Linked DNA regions of Homo sapiens: region 2 is linked to region 1. The links are contacts of gene promoters, found by promoter capture Hi-C in blood cells and fetal thymus (Javierre and others, 2016). All regions are on one chromosome and are shown on one strand. Each heading gives the region's core, a stretch centred on a gene start or on the middle of the fragment in contact. The rest is flanking DNA. Distances are from core to core; before and after follow the strand shown.

The links. The method cuts DNA at HindIII sites, captures the fragments that hold promoters and counts their contacts. A CHiCAGO score of 5 or more calls a contact.
Region 2: the fragment with the promoter of MTFR1L here is called in contact with the fragment with the promoter of SLC30A2 in region 1 in 1 of 17 cell types (neutrophils); the score reaches 7.6 in neutrophils.

The regions. Positions count from the first base shown.
Region 1 is chr1:26,043,723-26,047,959 of GRCh38, forward strand. SLC30A2 (solute carrier family 30 member 2) reads right to left here and starts at 2,396. Exons shown (of 8, transcript NM_001004434.3): 1 at 2,125-2,396; 2 at 1,275-1,495; 3 at 576-722. The coding sequence starts at 2,174. RefSeq lists an enhancer at 1,427-1,995. The HindIII fragment of the contact is 10,541 bases long and covers 308-4,237 here.
Region 2 is chr1:25,817,652-25,821,945 of GRCh38, forward strand. MTFR1L (mitochondrial fission regulator 1 like) reads left to right here and starts at 2,303. Exons shown (of 7, transcript NM_001099625.2): 1 at 2,303-2,378. It overlaps LOC646471 (a long non-coding RNA gene), which reads right to left. Exons shown (of 1, transcript NR_024498.1): 1 at 2,303-4,294. It overlaps SELENON (selenoprotein N), which reads left to right. Exons shown (of 12, transcript NM_206926.2): 12 at 1-570. RefSeq lists enhancers at 346-846, 2,489-2,628, 3,009-3,098 and silencers at 2,089-2,278, 2,729-2,898. The HindIII fragment of the contact is 17,718 bases long and covers 1-4,294 here.

The sequences.
Region 1 (4,237 bases), core at 1,146-3,645:
ATATATCTAGGAATGTAAGAGCTAGAAGGAACTAATAAGTCATCATCTGAGTCCACCTTTTTGGTTGTACATGTAAAGAAGCTGACTTATTAAAGTATGTGCCTTTTGTTCAGCTAGTAAACTGAGGCTTCTGGGGAAGACAGGCTGGGCCATCTCCCACAAAGAGGAAGGTGACGATGCAGTCCAGGGTGAACGGAAGAGAGGTTAAAGCCTATATCTTCCAGCAGCCTTTGCTGGCCTTCCCCTCCCCCCAGAGCTGATCCACAGAGTTATGTGCAGTGTTAATGCCATTGTCATTTGTTCTTGAAGCTTGGCTACTGCACTTCTTAGGAAGGTCAACTTTGCTTCCCTGCAGACTGAGAGCTCCTGGATGACTGGGACCAGGGCTCCCCCATCAGACTAGGATTTCCCAGAGGACAGAGGCCATGGTTGACATCCTCTTCCCCCATCCAGATCACCCTCCTGGCCTCACTCAGGGGAGGAAGGGGGGATCCACCCATTACAGCCACCTAAGAACCCCTGTTCTAACCCACCCTCTCTCTCAACCCCATCTCCAGCCAAACCGCGATCCTCACCAGCTCTCTGCCAGCCAAAGTTCATGGTCTTGGTGGCTGGCCGGGAGGACATCCAGAGGGAGAAGAGGCTGATGAGCATGCTGGCAAAGTCAGTGAGCAGGTGTGCTGCGTCAGTCATGACAGCCAAGCTGTGTGCCAGGTACCCACCTGCAGGGTGGAGGGTCCTTATCAGCTCCCCCAGAGAGCTGGCTCCCAAGACTGTGTGTGCAGCAGGGAGACCACAGGCTCTGGAAGAGGACATTCTGGGCTCAAGATCTCTCTACCCATGAGCTGTACCACCGTGACAAGTGACCTACTCTCTCTGAGCCTCAACTTCCACTCTCTGTGAAATGGGCCACCAATATCTACTTAGAGGGTGAATGTGCACATCAAGTTCAAATAGGGACTGGAAAACATAGCAGATACTCAGTAAATGCTCTTCCCTTCTAGGAATTCAGGCCTTCCCTTAGCTACGAGTTGTGCGTGATCTTTGGCAAGTTACTTCACCTGAACATGCCTCAGTTTCATCATCTGTAAAGTAAGGAGAATAACGTCACCCATGTGAGAACACAGGTTGTTGTTAGACCTGCATCAGATAATGTGTATATAAAGGCTTACTGTAGTGTGTGTTCAGTAATTGGGGCTTTTAGTGTCAGTATTGCTGGGAACATCCAGTCTATCCATGCACCAACTTCATTTAATTAGCCCAAAAGTGCTTACCAACGACTTCTCCGATCATGAACAACAGGCAGATGGCAGAGGCTACATACAGCTGGCGCTGGGCCTTCCCCTTCTTGGGGTCACAGTGACTGTCAGGACCCTTCTGAGCATGGCAGTGATGGTTGCTCTGGGCAGCCAGCTCAATGGCCTGCAAGTCCAGGCCAGGTCGGGGCAGAGGAATCCAGCCAGCCCCTTCCTGCCACAGAGATCCCGTGTATGACCTGGCCAGAGGGGAAGAGAGGGAACGCTCAGCTCTGAGATGAGGTAAGGAGGGCCGACTCTAGTCCCATTTCTCTGTGAGGCCTTGTGTCCACTGGGAAAAATAGCTAAGGACGCTCCGAGCTCGACAAACCAGAGGTGAGAAGCCTGTATTCAGACGGGGATGATAGGGGAATGGGAGTCCTGGGGCCCGGGGCCCTTCAGAGGCCAGAGGAGGTGAAGACCCTGGGAACCGGCCAAGGGGCGTGCTGTCCAGTGGAGCGCGGGGAAGGAACAGAGCGCAGGCTCTGGGAGAACAGCAGGCCCCCTCCAGCGCACTTGGGACACAGGGCCTCCCCGGGGCGGGGCTGCCTGGGGCAAAGTGCTGGGCGGGGCGGGACTCCAGGCATGGGAACCGCCAATCCCCCGGCCCCAGGCCCCCCGCGGGCAGGGGTCAGAATCTGGGCTGCGCCCCAAGGGAGAGACGGTCCTTGGGCCACAGCCCATTATCTTCGTTCCCTCACCTCACCCCACCCCTCCTGCATGGTCCCAGCTCAAGCCGCAGCCAAAACCAACCACTGCTAGGATGGCAAATGCGGAGGTGCGTCGGCTGCCGCCAAAATTCCCGCCCGTCCCCAGGCTCTCGCCTTACCGGATTGCCGGCCTGGCGTCCAACAGATGCTGCTTCTCCTTGGCCTCCATGCAGTCCCGCGCCGAGTCCCGGCAGCCGCGCAGCCGCCCCGCCGAGTGCGCCCTGAAAGTTGCGCGCGGGACTCCGGGTGGCGCTCACCCACCTGCCCCGAGGGCCCCGCGAGGTGCGCTCACTCCGGCCCGGCTCCTGCGGCCCCTGAGCTCCCCCGGCTCCCGCTGCGGCTGCAGCTCCGGCTCTGGCTCCGCGTGCCAAGCGCTCCCGTGTCTCGGGTCAGCCGCTGCGCCCCGCGGCCGCCGGCTTTATCCGGCCCTCGCCAACCCGTGTGAAGCTGCCGTCGGCGCGTCGTGTGCAAAAGCCCGCGGGGAAGGGGGGGCGGTCGCCGGCTGCAAAAGGCCCGGCTGTGGCCCCGCACACCTGTGCCTGCGCCCATGGGGCCCGCGGAGCCCACCTGCCGGCCGCGAGAAGTTTGCCAGCCTTCGCCCGGCGCGGCGCCGGGTGTTGCTGAGTGAGGACGGGGTGACGCCTGCGCCCCCTCTCCCGCGCGGGGTGCGCCGCCTCGCCGCCGAAAAGTTCTCGACTTTAGTTTGTAGAAATCCGCTTTGGTGGTCCCGACGGCAGGAATGTGGCTCCTTGCCTCGGAAGAGGGTCTCCAGAGGCTACTGGGGCCGCGTCTGCCCCCTCCGACTGGCGGCTGCCCTGGGCTTGATCATGTTCCCCTCTCAGGCCGGAGACCCCCCGAGGTCGGCTTGCGTTCCTGTCCTCCTGCTAGGAGGGTCCTGGGGTGGGGTGGGCTGCGCCGCCCTCAGGCTGGGGCAGTGTCTCTCCCTAGGACCGGCTGGGACTGATCGACCCATCCTCGCCACTGAAGCAGCGCCAGCTCCTCCTCTCCTGCGCGCAGGAGAATCTGGAGTGGCCGGCTTTGTCTCCACCCGCACAGAGAACAGTGTCATCGGCAGTCACCATCGGAGCAGAGACGACCACTGCCACTGCTGCCACCCCTTCTCCCCTCCCCCGCAGCGGCTCCTGGGAGCCCCAGGAAGCCTGACAAGCAAGCCTGGGAGATGCAGGCCGGAGGTGCCACCGTGTTGGTACCGCTGGGAGAAGCCCTGTCCTTCCTGGCCAGCTTGGTGCCCCACCCACTTGAAGCAGCCTCCTTCCCTGGCGGTTCTTGGGGATTGGGGAGCCTGTGGCCCCCACGCTGGCCTCTGACAGGTGCCCTCTGTGTAGAAAGAAGCTGCTGGAGACCTCCCTGTCTGGTCAATTCGTCTCCCCAGCACCCTTTGTCGCTAGGACCATAGGCTTGGTGGGTATGGCCTTTCACAGAGCCAAGAGTCAGAGGTGCAGGCCTCTTGCCCACACCACTGGGGACAGGAAGGGGCTCTTTCAGTCTCTCATCTTGTAGGAGACGGGGTGCCAGGAGTGAGGATGTGAGGTGCACCCGCTCTGCTTGGGTCCTCACTGAGTGCCTCTCTGCTTCTCTGGACTCTGGTTTTCTTCTGGAAAACCTCAGACACCCTGGTTTTCTCCAGGTCTGTCTACTCTGAGCACCAGCAGGCTCAGCATTACCTGGAGAAGGTGTTACAACGCAGGTTACAGGTCCCTGCATCAGACCAACCGAACCAGAATCTCTGGGTGTGGAGCCTGAATATTTCCAGGATTCAGTAGGTCTGGGGCAGGGCCTGGGAATCTGTATTTATAAAATTCTCTGGTGCTATTGTGGCATCATTGTTCATTTTTATGTATAGTGGTTTTTTTGTTTGTTTGTTTTTGAGACAGAGTTTCATTTCTGTCTCTGTCGCCCAGGCTCGACTGCAATCTCAGCTCACTGCAATCTCTGCTTCCCGGATTCAAGTGATTCTCCTGCCTCAGCTTCCTGAGTAGCTGGGATTACAGGTGCCCACGACCATGCCAAGCTAATTTTTGTATTTTTAGTACAGACAGGGTTTCACCATGTTGGCCAGGCTGGTCCTGAGGTTATGATTTTTTTCAAAGAACACCTTTATCTAAAGTATTTAGGGATAAAATGTCATCTGGGTTTTGCCTTAAAATAATCCCAGTGGGGAGAGTACGGTACTGGTATAGAAGAAATAAATATGTCACCAGCTGTTGAAAC
Region 2 (4,294 bases), core at 1,053-3,552, 230 kb before region 1:
TTGCCCAGGGTCACTCAGGTAGAGTTGAGATTCAAACCCACATGTGGCTCCAAAGTCTGCATCTGGATTTGGGGGTGTTTTTTGGCATGGCACCCTCACCTCTCTCCCTGCCTGTTTTCCCCAAAGTGGAAAGGAAGGCCTTTCAAACCAGAGTGTCTCACTCCCCTCTGACCTCCAGACCAGATGGGGCATGAGCCAGCCAGCTCAGCCAGGCTCCCTGTGTCCTGGGAGGAAGTGTCCCCATCCCCCATGCCCCTTATGGGGAGGGAGGGCGTCTGATGCTCTCTCTCTGCCTCCCCCCCCATCCTGTCAGGCACAGGTGACGGGGGCAGCCCATGCGAGCCCTTCTCCTGCTGCTCTGGGAGGGCCAGTTCCACATTGAGCCAGCCTGGTCCCATGGAAAATGATGGCCTGGGCTTTCTGAGGCCTTATCTGATGCCTCTGCAGTTCATGTCCCCCACCAGGCCTCGAGGCTCAGGGTGGGAGAGGGCCCCGGGCTGCCCTGTCACTCCTCTAACACTTCCCTCCCCTGTCCCCAACATGCCCTGTAATAAAATTAGAGAAGACTAACTAGAGTGGTTCTAAGTGCTTTTCCTTTGAGTGGCATGTTGCTCAGCTCCGTCCTTCCATGGGGTGGCTCCCTCTTGGGGCAGAGTTGAGCTGGAATGCTTTCAGGTACTATCTTACCTATCGAAGGCTTGAGTGACTTGCCCAAAATAAGTTTTACGATAGAACAAGTGGTAGGACTTACTGTTTTGAGAATCTGGTGCTCTCTGTTGAGAGAGATCTGGGAGTTAAAATCATTGTCTTAAAAGCAGAGCCTGAGACAGGCATGAAGTGTTTTTTTGTTTGTTTGTTTTGTTTGTTTGGTGGGGCTGGGGGGGAGTGTACTTCCAGAAAAACCAGTAAAAGAAGGAAGGAAGCAGAAGAGGGAAAGGAAAAATGCTGAGCAGGAACAGTCTCAGCCCAGCCTTGGCCTGACCCACAGTGGAAGAGCTGTGGGGCATAAACCACACTGCAGAGCTGAACTGGCCTTTTGGACCTTTTATCAGTCATTGGCTTGGGAGGTGAAGGAAATTCCCAGGTAGGGAGCTCCGTTCTTCCTGCAAGGGGATCTGAGTGGGACACCAAATCAGCATCTACACCCAGGACAGACAGCCAGCGTGGACTTGCATGATCCGCCATCGCACAGGAGGGAAAGGTAATGATTAAAACACAATGTGCCATCCTGGGAAGAGGGCCAGACCTGGAAGTCAATCTTCAGCGTTTGAGATATGGTGGAGATCAGGGTGGACGACCTCTGAGGTCTCTAGCCAGGACCAGTCACATAATTTGCACAGCCCCGTGCAAAATGAAAACACAAGAACCCCTATTAGAAAATCATTTCAAGACGGCAACAGCAAAGTACTAAACCAAGTACAGGATTCTGAGCATGCGGCCCGTTGTGACTGCATGGGCTGTTCACCCATGAAACCAGCTCTGTCTCTGGCAGAGGGGACTGCAGGCTTTGGAACCAAGGAACTCCAGCCTGGGAGCCAGGCACAGCCCGAGGCTGTGCTGAAGGCAGAGAAGGAAATGTGACCCAGGAACTGCATGCCACAGACCAAGACAGTGAGGGCTGGAGCACAAAGAGGGAGTGGGTTAGTGAGCCTGGAAGGAATGTGGCTCTTCCCACAGAGCCTCTGGAGTCTTGTACATCAAGTACCCATCTAATAAGCAAACTCATTGAATATACCGTGTGTGTGTGTGTGTGTGTGTGTGTGTGTGTGTGTGTGTGTGAGAGAGAGAGAGAGAGGCTAAAATAGAAGAAAGCTGCAAAGTGCTGGAGGGCAGGAGTCAAGAGGAGAAAGAGGCCCATTCTGCGCATTCTTGCTGGAGAGAGGCTTTGCAAAGGGACCTGCCTGGGAACCAAGAACTGGGAAGGGGGCCAGGGTGAGGATTCTGAAGTTTGCCCTAGGGGTAGGAGCATATTTTAGGGGTCGAGCGACACACCCCTGGGCTTCCAGAAGTCGGATGGGGCTAAACGTGGAGAGCAACAAGCAGGGAGACGCGACGAATACCAGGCCGAGGGATCTCCAAACGCAGCCAACTCCTCCCGGGGACACAGACCCCGCGGGGGCACGGTCTCGATGGAGGGGAGTGTGCTCCGCGGTATCGGAGCCTACAGCCGCCAGCGCCTCGCCCACTCGGGGGCCGCGCTCCCCTCGCCACCGAGCTGGACCCGCCTCCTGAGGGTGCGCGGAGGTGCGCCTCGGTGCGCAGCTGCGGAGGATCGCTTCCGGGGGGCGGGTCAGCGGAAGTGAGGGCGGTTGAGGCTGGGCGGCCCAAGGTGGAAGGAGGGGCCGTGAGGTGAGAGAGTCCGGGAGCCCGAGCTTGAGGTGAGAAAGGTTCTAGGGAGGCGCGGAGGCGGGAGCGCGACCTTCCAGCCCGTTAGTAGACTGGGTCTACGTGCCGGGCGCTGTGCGGAGCCCGCAGCTCCTGTTCCCGCGCGAGTTCTCGCGGGAGCCGCAGCTGTCCGTCTCACTTGGCCCGGGGGAAACTGAGTCCCCGAAGGGTAGTTGCTCGTCGGAGTTCCCCAGCAAACAGTGACCAAGCCAGACCTCAGGCTTCTAGTTTCGGCTTCGCTGCTTGACGGGCCGGGCTGCCCCGCCGCGCATTCTGAGACCTGGCCGCGGCTCGGAGGCTTCCGCGCACTCGGGTCCGGGTCCTGTGGGTCCAAGGGCCGCTGGGCAGGCGGCGAGCACTTGGCCGACCTTGGCCCAGGTCGGGTCGTCTGCCGCGGGGGAGGGGCGACTCGCCCTGGCGGGTCCCCGCGGGGAGAGGGTCCGCGCGGGTCTCCGGCCACTGCTGCGCGCGGCAAAGTTTCACTGAGCGCGGCGGCCTCCGTGGGGGCCCCCGGGACCAGGGGTGCTGAGCAGGGCCCTGCGCTGGAGGAGCTCCCGTTCTCCTGAGGGGACGCCTGTCAGCAGACAGCAACTGCAGCCTCCGGAGGGCTGCGGGGCGCAGAGGTGACAAGACCCACCGGTGCTGCCGGCGAACCGGGGGAAGATCTTCTAGCCAGTGACACTTGGGGGCGGGGGTGACAGCTGAGTTGGTGTTCCCCTTCATTCGTTTAGTTCAGCGCGTTGAAGCGCTCACTGTGTCCTAGGCAGACACCGTGCTGTGCGCGGGGATCACAGTTATCTAGTTCCTCTCGCGAGGACTCCGAGGGACAGGCAGGGTGCTGCGGAGCGCACAGGAAAGGACCTGACCCTGTCGCAGGGAAGGAAGGTGATGCTTAAGCTGAGCTCTGAGGAATGATGAAGAATGAGCTCGGCGAAGGGGGTGCTGGTGTTTGATGCAGGGCTCAGAGGTGGGCCCAGTGTTGGGGGTTGAGGGCCAGTGTGGCTGGAGGGCAAGGGGGAGAGCAGGAGGGCTGGCTGCGAAGCGTGCAGGCCTTGGTGCTCAGTGAATGTGGTCTAGAGACGGCAGAGAAAGATGGGTTTGGGACTGATTGTGGATTTTATCCTGTGTTGGCTCTAGTAAGCCAGTTTTAAACGGATGAGCGATGTGATTAACTGTGTTTGGGAAGGATTCCTCTGGCTGTGTGTGAGGGTTAGGCCCGGCTGGGTCTTTGGAGGTAAGGTCGGAGAGGAAGTGGCAGTAAGCACCGTTAGTGCAATTTGTGGCCGACACGGACATTCAGCACAGAGCCTGGCACACAGAGGGACTCTGATAATAAAGGCTTGAACTGAGCCGAGAAGATGGAGCCCACGCAGGAGGTGGCAGGACCTGGACCAGGCTTTGGGTGCTTTGCACTGGCATGACCACTGAGTGACCTTAGACAAGTGCCTTCCCCTGTCCAACTTCCTTTCCCCATGTGTATCGTGAAGTGAATGACACCTCGTCTCCCAAGGGTAGAAGAGGGGACCCTCCACAGGAGGTCTCCAGAAAGAGCTGCTTTGTCAGTCTAGTCTATCTCCCATTCAGAGCCTGTCCAGGGCTCCCCAGTGACCCGGACCTCATGACTTGCCCCCTACTTTTGTAGCTTTATCATGCTCTGCTCCTCTTTCCATGTCCTTCACCTTCTTGTGCTGGACCTGTGCTCTTGCTGTTTTGTCTTCATTTCCTACTCCCTCGCAACTTACTACAGGGCACTAGGGCCAGAGCTCTGACCTCATCTGGCCACCTGCCTAATGCTACTCAGCCTTTGCTAGAAGTATGTATTCATGTCCTATCACTCTGCTGGACAGCGAGTTCCTTGAGAGCATGACTGTGTCTTACTCCTTCCATAGCCCCTACGGTGCCCAGCACA